Linked DNA regions of Homo sapiens: region 2 is linked to region 1. Evidence: promoter capture Hi-C in human tissues and cell types (Jung and others, 2019). All regions are on one chromosome and are shown on one strand. The core of a region is centred on a gene start or on the middle of the fragment in contact, and the rest is flanking DNA. Distances in the headings are between cores, read along the strand shown.

Region 1 (4,428 bases), core at 1,143-3,642:
CAGTGTCAAAAAATAAATAAATAAAAAGGAAGAATCAGGTGACTGTTCCAAACTCCTCCAAAATGGGTATTGGGTCCCGACTCTGCTCTTCCCGGGACAGGGGTGTGCCTTCCCCTTTCCTGTTGTCCATAAACCCACTCCCTCTCACTAAAGAAATAAGAAAAAGTGTTCACAGCACTTTGAGTTATGCGAGGTGTGCAGAATTTATCAGGCCCAGAGAGACAGGAATATGGACTTCAGTCACACGCCTTGTACTCATGCCCTGGGGTGACTGTTTAAAGGCATTTTGTTCCTGACTAGCTCAACCCATTATCTTCCTGTTCCTGGAATTTGTGATACCAAAGACAATGTAGACAATGTAGAGACAATAAATAGCTTTTTTTTTTTTTGAGACAGAGTCTCGCTGTGTTGCCCAGGCTGGAGTGCAGTGGTGCTATCTCGGCTCACTGCAAGCTCCACCTCCCGGGTTCATGCCATCCTCCTGCCTCGGCATCCAGAGTAGCTGGGACTGCAGGCACCCGCCGCCACGCCCGGCTAATTTTTTGTATTTTTAGTAGAGACGGGGTTTTACCGTGTTAGCCAGGATGGTCTCGATCTCCTGACCTCGTGATCCGCCTGCCTTGGCCTCCCTAAGTGCTGGGATTACAGGCATGAGCCACCGCGCCCAGTCTTCTTCTTCTTTTTTTTTTTTTTTTTTTTTTGAGATGGAGTTTCACTCTATTGCCCAGGCTGGAGTGCAATGGTGTGATCTTGACTCACTGCAAACTCCGCCTCCCGGGTTCAAGTGATTATCCTACCTCAGCCTCCCAAGTAGCTGGGACTATAGGTGCTCACCACCATGCCTGGCTAATTTTTGTATTTTTAGTAGAGGAAGGGTTTCATCATGTTGGCCAGACTGGTCTTGAACTCCTGACCTCAAGTGATCCTCCCACCTTGGCCTCCCAAAGTGCTGGGATTACAGGTGTGAGCCACCACGCCTGACCCAATAAATAGCTTACGTTATTTTCATATAAATTCCTCAGGCTAGGCCAGCCAAGGTGGGAGGATCCCTTCAGGTCAGGAGTTCAAGACTAGCCTGGACAACACAGCAAGACTTCTTCTCTAATTTCAAATTCTTGGTAAACAACTTAGGAACTGCCTCTTCTTTTCCTTTATAAAACCCACTTATAACTGCTGCCAATATATTAAGACAACTTGCATCTCCAGGGTTGCACTTCTCAAACTTGGCCCAAATAAACTCTATTTTTTTTTCAAGATGGAGTTTCGCTCTGTCGCCCAGGCTTGAGTGCAGTGGCGTGATCTCAGCTCACTGCAACCTCTGCCTCCCAGGTTCAAGGGATTCTCCTGCCTCAGCCTCCTGAGTAGCTGGGATTACAGGCATGCGCCACCGTGCCTTGCTAATTTTATTTTATTTTTTTGTATTTTTTGTAAAAACGGGCAAGGTGGGTCTCACCACGTTGCCCAGGCTGGTCTTGAACTCCTGACCTGAAGCAGTCCTCCTGCCATGGCCTCCCAAAGCATTGGAATTACAGGCATGAGCTGGTGTGCCTGACCCAACGTCTCCACTTACGTTAATTTTGCCTCCTTTCTTCCTTTTTTTTTTTTTTTTTTTTTTTTTTGAAACGGAGTATGGCTCTGTTGCCCAGGCTGGAGTGTGCAGTGGCCCAATCTCGGCTCACTGCAACAACTGCCTCCCAGTTTCAAGCGATTCTCCTACCTCAGCCTCCCGTGTAGCTGGGATTACAGGTGCCTACCACCAGCCAGGGTAATTTTTGTATTTTTAGTAGAGACGGGTTTTCACCATATTGGCCAGGCTGGTCTTGGGAACTCTTGACCTCAGGTGATCCACCCGCCTCGGCCTCCCAAAGTGCTGGGATTGCGGGCGTTAGCCATCGCGCCCGGCCCGTTTTCTCCTTTTGGGTCACAAAAGTGATTGAATCCTGCCACTTCCCAGGTGCTGGGTGGGAACAGGGAAGAGGGGGATAATTGCGGTGCTGCTGTGACTTGGGTAGATGGCGGCAAGGCCTCTCAGAGGTGGCCTTGTTTGCAAAGATCTGAATTAGGCAGGGAGAGGGGCAGGCCTGGGGCAATCAGGGAGGGGCAGTGGCACACTGGGAGCAAGGCAATGTTCCGCGACCCACAGAGGCAGCGCAGTAGCTGTTCCAACCCTGGTCAGAAGACACCCCGGAAATGCCTCAGCAACCGCGCAGCCTTTGATGACCCCCGCTGCCTTCCCGCCAATCCTACATCCAATCAGAGAGCGTCCCCAGTACACATGTTGAGCAATGGCCAATCAGAACTGGGATCCGGCCCTCAGCCCGCCTCCCAGGAACTCCGAGCCAATGGCGGCCTGGCACCGGCGGGCCAATCCCGTGCGGCGCGCACAGGCAGGAGGTTGCAGTTGGGCGCTCAGCAGCTGTGGCAGCCGGTTGAGGTCTGGCAGTAGCGTTGGGCTGAAGCAGCGGAGTTCGCCATGGTAAGGCCCGGGTCACTCCCGCCCCGCAGATGCCCAGGCAGACGAAGTTGGCCTCGGGTGGACAGAGGGACGTTGTTGCGGGCCTGGGCGCTGAGAGGAGGCCAGAGAAGGACGCAGGGTCTAGTGCGGGACAGGAGGACACGGGATCGTTTCCTGGATCTTTGGGTCCCAGGGCAGGGACGGCGGCTTTTGTTTTAGATGAAGCTGCCGGCCTTTAGTGAACGGGACCATTGACGGTGTCCCGTCCCCCAGAGAGCAAATAGTGGCGTCGCCTCCTGAAGACGGGAGGGCGCTGCTCCCGCTTCACACGTCTTTGTGCTACTCGAAACAACTGAGGAGCCCCAGGAGCCTTCGGTGACGGGGGTTGGGGCTGTGGACATTGATCAGATGAGGAATTAAGGCTCAGACGCTGCTGCAACATTGCCTTGTTCACCTAAAGGCAACCGTTAGGCCAGGCGCGGCGGCTCACGCCTGGAATCCCAGCCCTTGGGGAGGTGGAGGCGGGCGGATCACCTGATGTCTGGAGTTCAAGATCAGCCCGACCAACATGGCGAAACCCAGTCTCTACAAAAAAATACAAAAATTACCCGGGCATGGTGATGCGAGTCTGTGGTTCCAGCTACTCGGGAGGCTGAGGTGGGAGGATCAGCCGAGCCTGGAACTTTGAGGCTGCAGTGAGTCGTGATGGCGCCAGTGCACTCCAGCCTGGGCCACAGAGACCCTGCCTCAAAGACACAAACAAAAAAAGCAGCCCATTAACATAACAGATTCCCAAGTCCCAAGTCTGAATAGCTGTGGTTTGTCAGTTATCCTTTTTTTCCTTTCTTTTTCTTTCTTTTTTTTTTTTGAGACAGCACTCAACAAATGCTGTGTTGCCCAGGCTGGAGCACAGTTGCAGGATCACGGCTCCCTGCAGCCTTGAACCCCTGGCTTCCAGCAGCCCTCCCACCTCAGCCTTCCGAGTAGCTGGTACTACAGGTGTGTGCCACCACACCTGGCTAATTTGTAGATTTTTCATAGGGACAGGGACTCACTATGTTACCCAGGCTGGTCTCAAACTGGTCCCAAGTGATCCTCTCACCTCAGCCTTCTAAAGTGCTGGGATTATAGGAATGAGCCACCACACCCAGCTTGGCAGGGTTTAAAGAAACCACCAAAGGACAGTGCAGTGTCCCAGCACTAATGACGTCTGGGAGCCATTACAGGCTTCAAGGGGTAGAGAGAGGGAGTGGTTACAAGAAATTGGGAGGGTAGTTTTATGAAGAGGGCAGCCTGCCAAAAGTGTGGCCTTGAGAGGGATTCAGGTCACCCACAGCAGTTGAGCAGGAAGGGGCCAAGGAGGGAGTACCCTGGCACTGCTTTCTCCAGCCCCCCAGTATCCCACTGCTGCCTGCCATTGACCAAACCAGCAAGAAGCCAGAGGGCGAGGAAGGCCTCTGATGCTGTTCTCAAGGGTCAGCCTTCGAGAGCACAGAGCAGGTGGTGAATGATGGACGGGGTAGAACTGGGGGGTAGAGAGAGGACACACACTGAGCACCTGGGCTTGGACCATGGTGACCTGGGACCTACTCTGTATTTCCTTACCCAACCCGACTACCTTATCCTTTGATCAGGACATAATCAAAAACTGCTACATATTCTTCAGAGAATTACTGTGACGGGCTATAATGTGGGGTTGATTATTGACATTACATGGCTTCCAAGTTTTAAAATAACCTAAGTTTTGTGTAGTGGCAAACAGGTTCTAGGGCTACCTCTAGAACTTACTAGCTAGTATGGTTTACAGCAATTAGTTTTCACAGCGATAAAGGGATCAGTCACTAACCCTCCTAGGAAATATCGATTGTGAAAGCGCCAGATACTGAAGCAGTATATAAATATTAAATTAGAATATTTTGCATGCCATATAGTTTCAAGTTGCCTTGAAATGAATGGGTTCACTTTTATGTTCC
Region 2 (4,428 bases), core at 953-3,452, 1.3 Mb before region 1:
ATTAAAATTGTATTAAACATATTTAATTTGGAGGAGGCTGAGATAATCAAGATATAAATAATGCTGGATATTCTCATCTAGTCAGATGATGTCTCTCCATTAACTAACTCTTGTAGTCCAAGTAACATTCTGTAGATTTATCTGCATAGGGAATGCTCACTTTTTCTAAGTGCATATCAAGATATTTTAGAGTTTTCAATGTGAATAGAAACTTTTTGCTTGTACAAATTCAATTTGATTCAGTTTGATTCATGAGAATTCTTTTGAGTTTCATTTTATCTTTTATCTGTCCTCTTAACTCATTGTTTTTATTAATTTTTAATTTCATTTTCTGAAAATTATATCAGTGGCTGTGTAATTGATGTTTCATTCTAATATGTATATTTCATTTTTCCTGTCATATTGCACTGGGAATAAAACCTGAACAGTACTGAATACTCTCAGTGAAAGTAGTCATGCTTTTTCTCTTACCAACAGAAATTCCTTTAGTAATTCATCAAGATGTTTAATGTAGAATTCTTTAAAAAATCAAAACCACAATGAGATACCATGTCATGTCAGTTAGAATGGTGATCATTAAAGAGTCAGAAAACAACAGATGTTGGAGAGGATGTGGAGAAGTAGGAACACTTTTACACTGTTGGTGAAGCTGTAAATTAGTTCAACCATTGTAGAACACAGTGTGGTGATTCCTCAAGGATCTAGATCAAGAAATACCATTTGACCCAGCAATCCCATTACTGGGATTATAAGGATTTACATTTCCAAAGGATTATAAATCATTTTACTATAAAGACACATGCACATGTTTGTTCATTGCAGCACTATTCACAGTAGCAAAGACTTGGAACCAACCCAAATGCTCATCAATGATAGACTGGATAAAGAAAATGTGGCACATATACACCATGGAATACTACACAGCCATTAAAAAGGATGAGTTCATGTCCTTTACAAGGACATGGATGAAGCTGGAAACCATCATTCTCAGCAAACTAACACAGGAACAGAAAACCAAATATTGCATGTTCTCACTCATAAGTGGGAGGTTAACAATGAGAACACATGGACACAGGGAGGGGAACATCACACACTGGGGCCTGTTGGGGGTGGGGGGCTAGGGGAGGGATAGCATTAGGAGAAATACCTAATGTAGATGATGGGTTGATGGATGCAGCAAACCACCATGGCACATGTATACCTATGTAACAAACCTGCACATTCTGCACATTTACCCCAGAACTTAAAGTATAATTTTTAAAAAATCAAATTAAGGTATTATAAAGCTTTTAGATGTTTGTCTCACTTCAATACTATTTTTCTTTAGTTTACCATGTAACCATCCAAAACTAAATCATCCCCCACCTCAGTTAGGCATCTTAGCATAAGTCCAGTTACTCAGAAGTCTCAGCTTTGCTTCCTCTTCCCCTACAACCCACTTTTAGAATGTAAGCAAGTCCTCTCCTGGTTTTCTTTTCTCCATTCCTACATCTTAGTTAAAGCTTTTACATCTTCACCATGCAGACCACAAAGACCACTAAAAATGAGACAGATAATAGACACAGGCTCCCATTTCTGGGTTCTGGGACCAAAGTTTAAATCAGAAGCACAGCATAATGCTATTAATTGGTAGTGTGTTTGGGCCTTATTGAAAGAGCCTACCTCAAGTGTTGAGACAGAAATTGAAAATAATCATACAGGAAAATACTGTAGAACTCAGTAGTCCAGAAAGCTCTATTACAGGCTGGGCACTGGCTTATGCCTGGCTCATGCCTGTAATCTCAGCACTTTGGGTGGCTGAGGCAGGTGAATCATCTGAGGTCAGGAGTTTGAGACCAGCCTGCCAACATGGTGAAACCCCATCTCTACTAAAAACCCCAAAATCAAGCCAGGCATGGTGGCGTGCACCTGTAATCCCAGTTACTCCAGAGGCTGAGGCAGGAGAATCATTTGAACCCAGGAGACGGAGGTTGCAATGAGCCGAGATAGCACCATTGTACTCAAGCCTAGTCGACAGAGGGAGACTCTGTCAACAAAGAAAGAAAGGAAGAAAGAAAGGAAGGAAGGAAGGAAAGGAAAGCTCTATTACAGAAAGCAATGTGAATTGGAATTGCTTTATGGTCATAAAGGAAATATTTTGGCCACTCTGAGGGATGTTCCAGGCAATAGTTTCAGTCTTACTCTAGCTATATAACCCTCTCAGGTCAGCAAAAAGGGTCAAAAAAACCAGCCAGTGTTCAGAATGAACATGCATTTGAGATTTGTGAGAAGGAGAACTCACATCTAAAGTCTAGAAGAACAGGTCCTAGGTGTTCTGGCCGTAATTCATTGGTTACTGATACCATATGATTGCAATGACATTCTATGTTGTAAGGGCAATGCTTGCTGCCAAGACACAAAACCTTGTACAAAGCTTTCTGGTTTTGGCCCCTCGTTTAACAAAGATATAATTCTGGTTATTTTCTTTCTTTTTTTTTTTTTTTTTTTTTTTCTTTTTATTCCTCCCAGAGCCTTGCCATTTCTTCCCCACCCCCCTCCGCCCCCGTCCCCCGCTCTTTTTTTTTTTTTTTTTTTTTTTTTTAAGATGGAGTGTCGCTCTGTCACCAGGCTGGAGTGCAGTGGTGCGATCTCGGCTCAGGGCAACCTCTGACTCCCTAGTTCAAGCGATTCTCCTGCCTCAGCCTCCCGAGTAGCTGGGATTACAGGCACACGCCACCATGCCCAGCTAATTTTTGTATTTTTAGTAGAGACGGGGTTTCACCATGTTGGCCAGGATGGTCTCAATCTCCCGACCTCGGGATCTGTCCGCCTCGGCCTCGCAAAGTGCTGGGATTACAGGCGTGAGCCACTGTGCTCGGCAGCCATTTCTTCCTTTAATCTCCAGCTGTTTCACCCCAAGATGGTCAAGACAATTTTTTATTTTTATATTTTATTATTATTATTTTTGAGACGGAGTCTCGCTGTCGCCCAGGCTGGAGTGCAGAGGCGCGATCTCGGCTCACTGCAAGCTCCGCCTCCTGAGTTCACGCCATTCTCCTGCCTCAACCTCCGGAGTAGCTGGGACTACAGGCGCCCGCCACCGTGCCCAGCTAATTTTTTTGTATTTTTAGTAGAAACGGGGTTTCACCGTGTTAGCCAGGATGGTGTCGATCTCCTGACCTCGTGATCCGCCCGCCTCGGCCTCCCAAAGTGCTGGGATTACAGGCGTGAGCCACGGTGCCCGGCCAAGATTGCAAGAAGACAGGAAGTAACACTTTGTCCTCTAATTTATCTCATAGGTGAAACTTTCTTTCTTTTTTCTAAGAAGTACCACTAGAATATAATCCTAAAATTTAATGGTTGAGAGACTTAACTATAGAATTTGCTTTCTGTTGATGTTATAGGGGCTTCCTTCTAACTCAGATGAATTTACTCTGAAAATGGCAAATGGTTCCCCCACTTACCCGAGGATGGAAGAACAAGTTATAAGTTGCATTCACTTGCTGAAGATACCTTAAGTATTTAGAATTGCGATAATGTGCTGAACTCAAATAGTTGAAACAAGTAACTTCTGGGGCAGCAGGTACTTATGTCAGCAATTGGCTTATTCCTTGACGCCAATGTTTTGGCTTTGTTTGGTGAATTGGTGGTTGACTTGATCCTTACTTGCTATTCAGACTGCCTCTGATCTTTCTGAGAGCCAGAACAATCTGGATGGTTCATTTGACATTGGTCAGAAAGGTCCTTAATCTTTAAATACACCAGTTCAAGCACAGAGTCATAAGATGAGATGAGGAGATGAAAGGTGGCTCACTTTGGGAGGCTGAAGTGGGTGGACAGCTTGAGCCCAGGAGTTCGAGACCAGCCTGGGCAACATGGGGAAACCTCATCTCTATGAAAAACTACAAAAAATTAGCCAGACTTTGTGGTGCATGCCTGTATTCCCAGCTACCCAGGAGGCTGAGGTGGGAGGAACTGAGCCTGGAAGGCCGAGGCATCAGTGAGCTGTGGTTGCATCACTGCTCTACAGCCTGGGCAACAGAGTGAGACCCTGTCTCAAAAAAAAAAAAAAAAGACCAACAAAACAAAAAAAATTCAAATAGGCCCCTCCAAGGAGCAACCATTTGTCTACAAGGAGTAAGGAGACTTCTACATCTTGGCAGTACTTGAAGACGGTGGGAAATTATCACGTCACATTCTGTTACAGTTTGGGGGCTACTCCAAAAGAAATTTCTTAATGCAACACTTTCACAAGAAAAGATAATGTGCTACTAGTGCTACCATTGTATGAGTGAGAGAAGGGGAGTGATTAATGTGTTACAGCCTCTTCTCACTAGTATCTAAGAACATGAAATTCATGCAGCACACCCTTCCCTCTCCCAGCCACTTGGAATCAGTCCTTCACCATGTCCTTATTCACTTCACAAATTATCCATATGCATTGTGGTT

Evidence for each region. The method cuts DNA at HindIII sites, captures the fragments that hold promoters and counts their contacts. A contact is called where the count stands out against the background at its distance.
Region 2: a contact is called between a fragment that was not itself captured here and the fragment with the promoter of TUBA3D in region 1, in 1 of the 25 tissues and cell types used here (lymphoblastoid cells).

Annotation. Positions count from the first base shown.
Region 1 is chr2:131,473,727-131,478,154 of GRCh38, forward strand. It overlaps TUBA3D (tubulin alpha 3d), which reads left to right and starts at 2,393. Exons shown (of 5, transcript NM_080386.4): 1 at 2,393-2,476. The coding sequence starts at 2,474. It also overlaps a transcript of MZT2A not described here. The HindIII fragment of the contact is 16,461 bases long and covers 1-4,428 here.
Region 2 is chr2:130,214,995-130,219,422 of GRCh38, forward strand. No RefSeq gene overlaps it. Among named protein-coding and RNA genes, the nearest start is that of TUBA3E, 19 kb to the left of the region's middle. The HindIII fragment of the contact is 3,319 bases long and covers 544-3,862 here.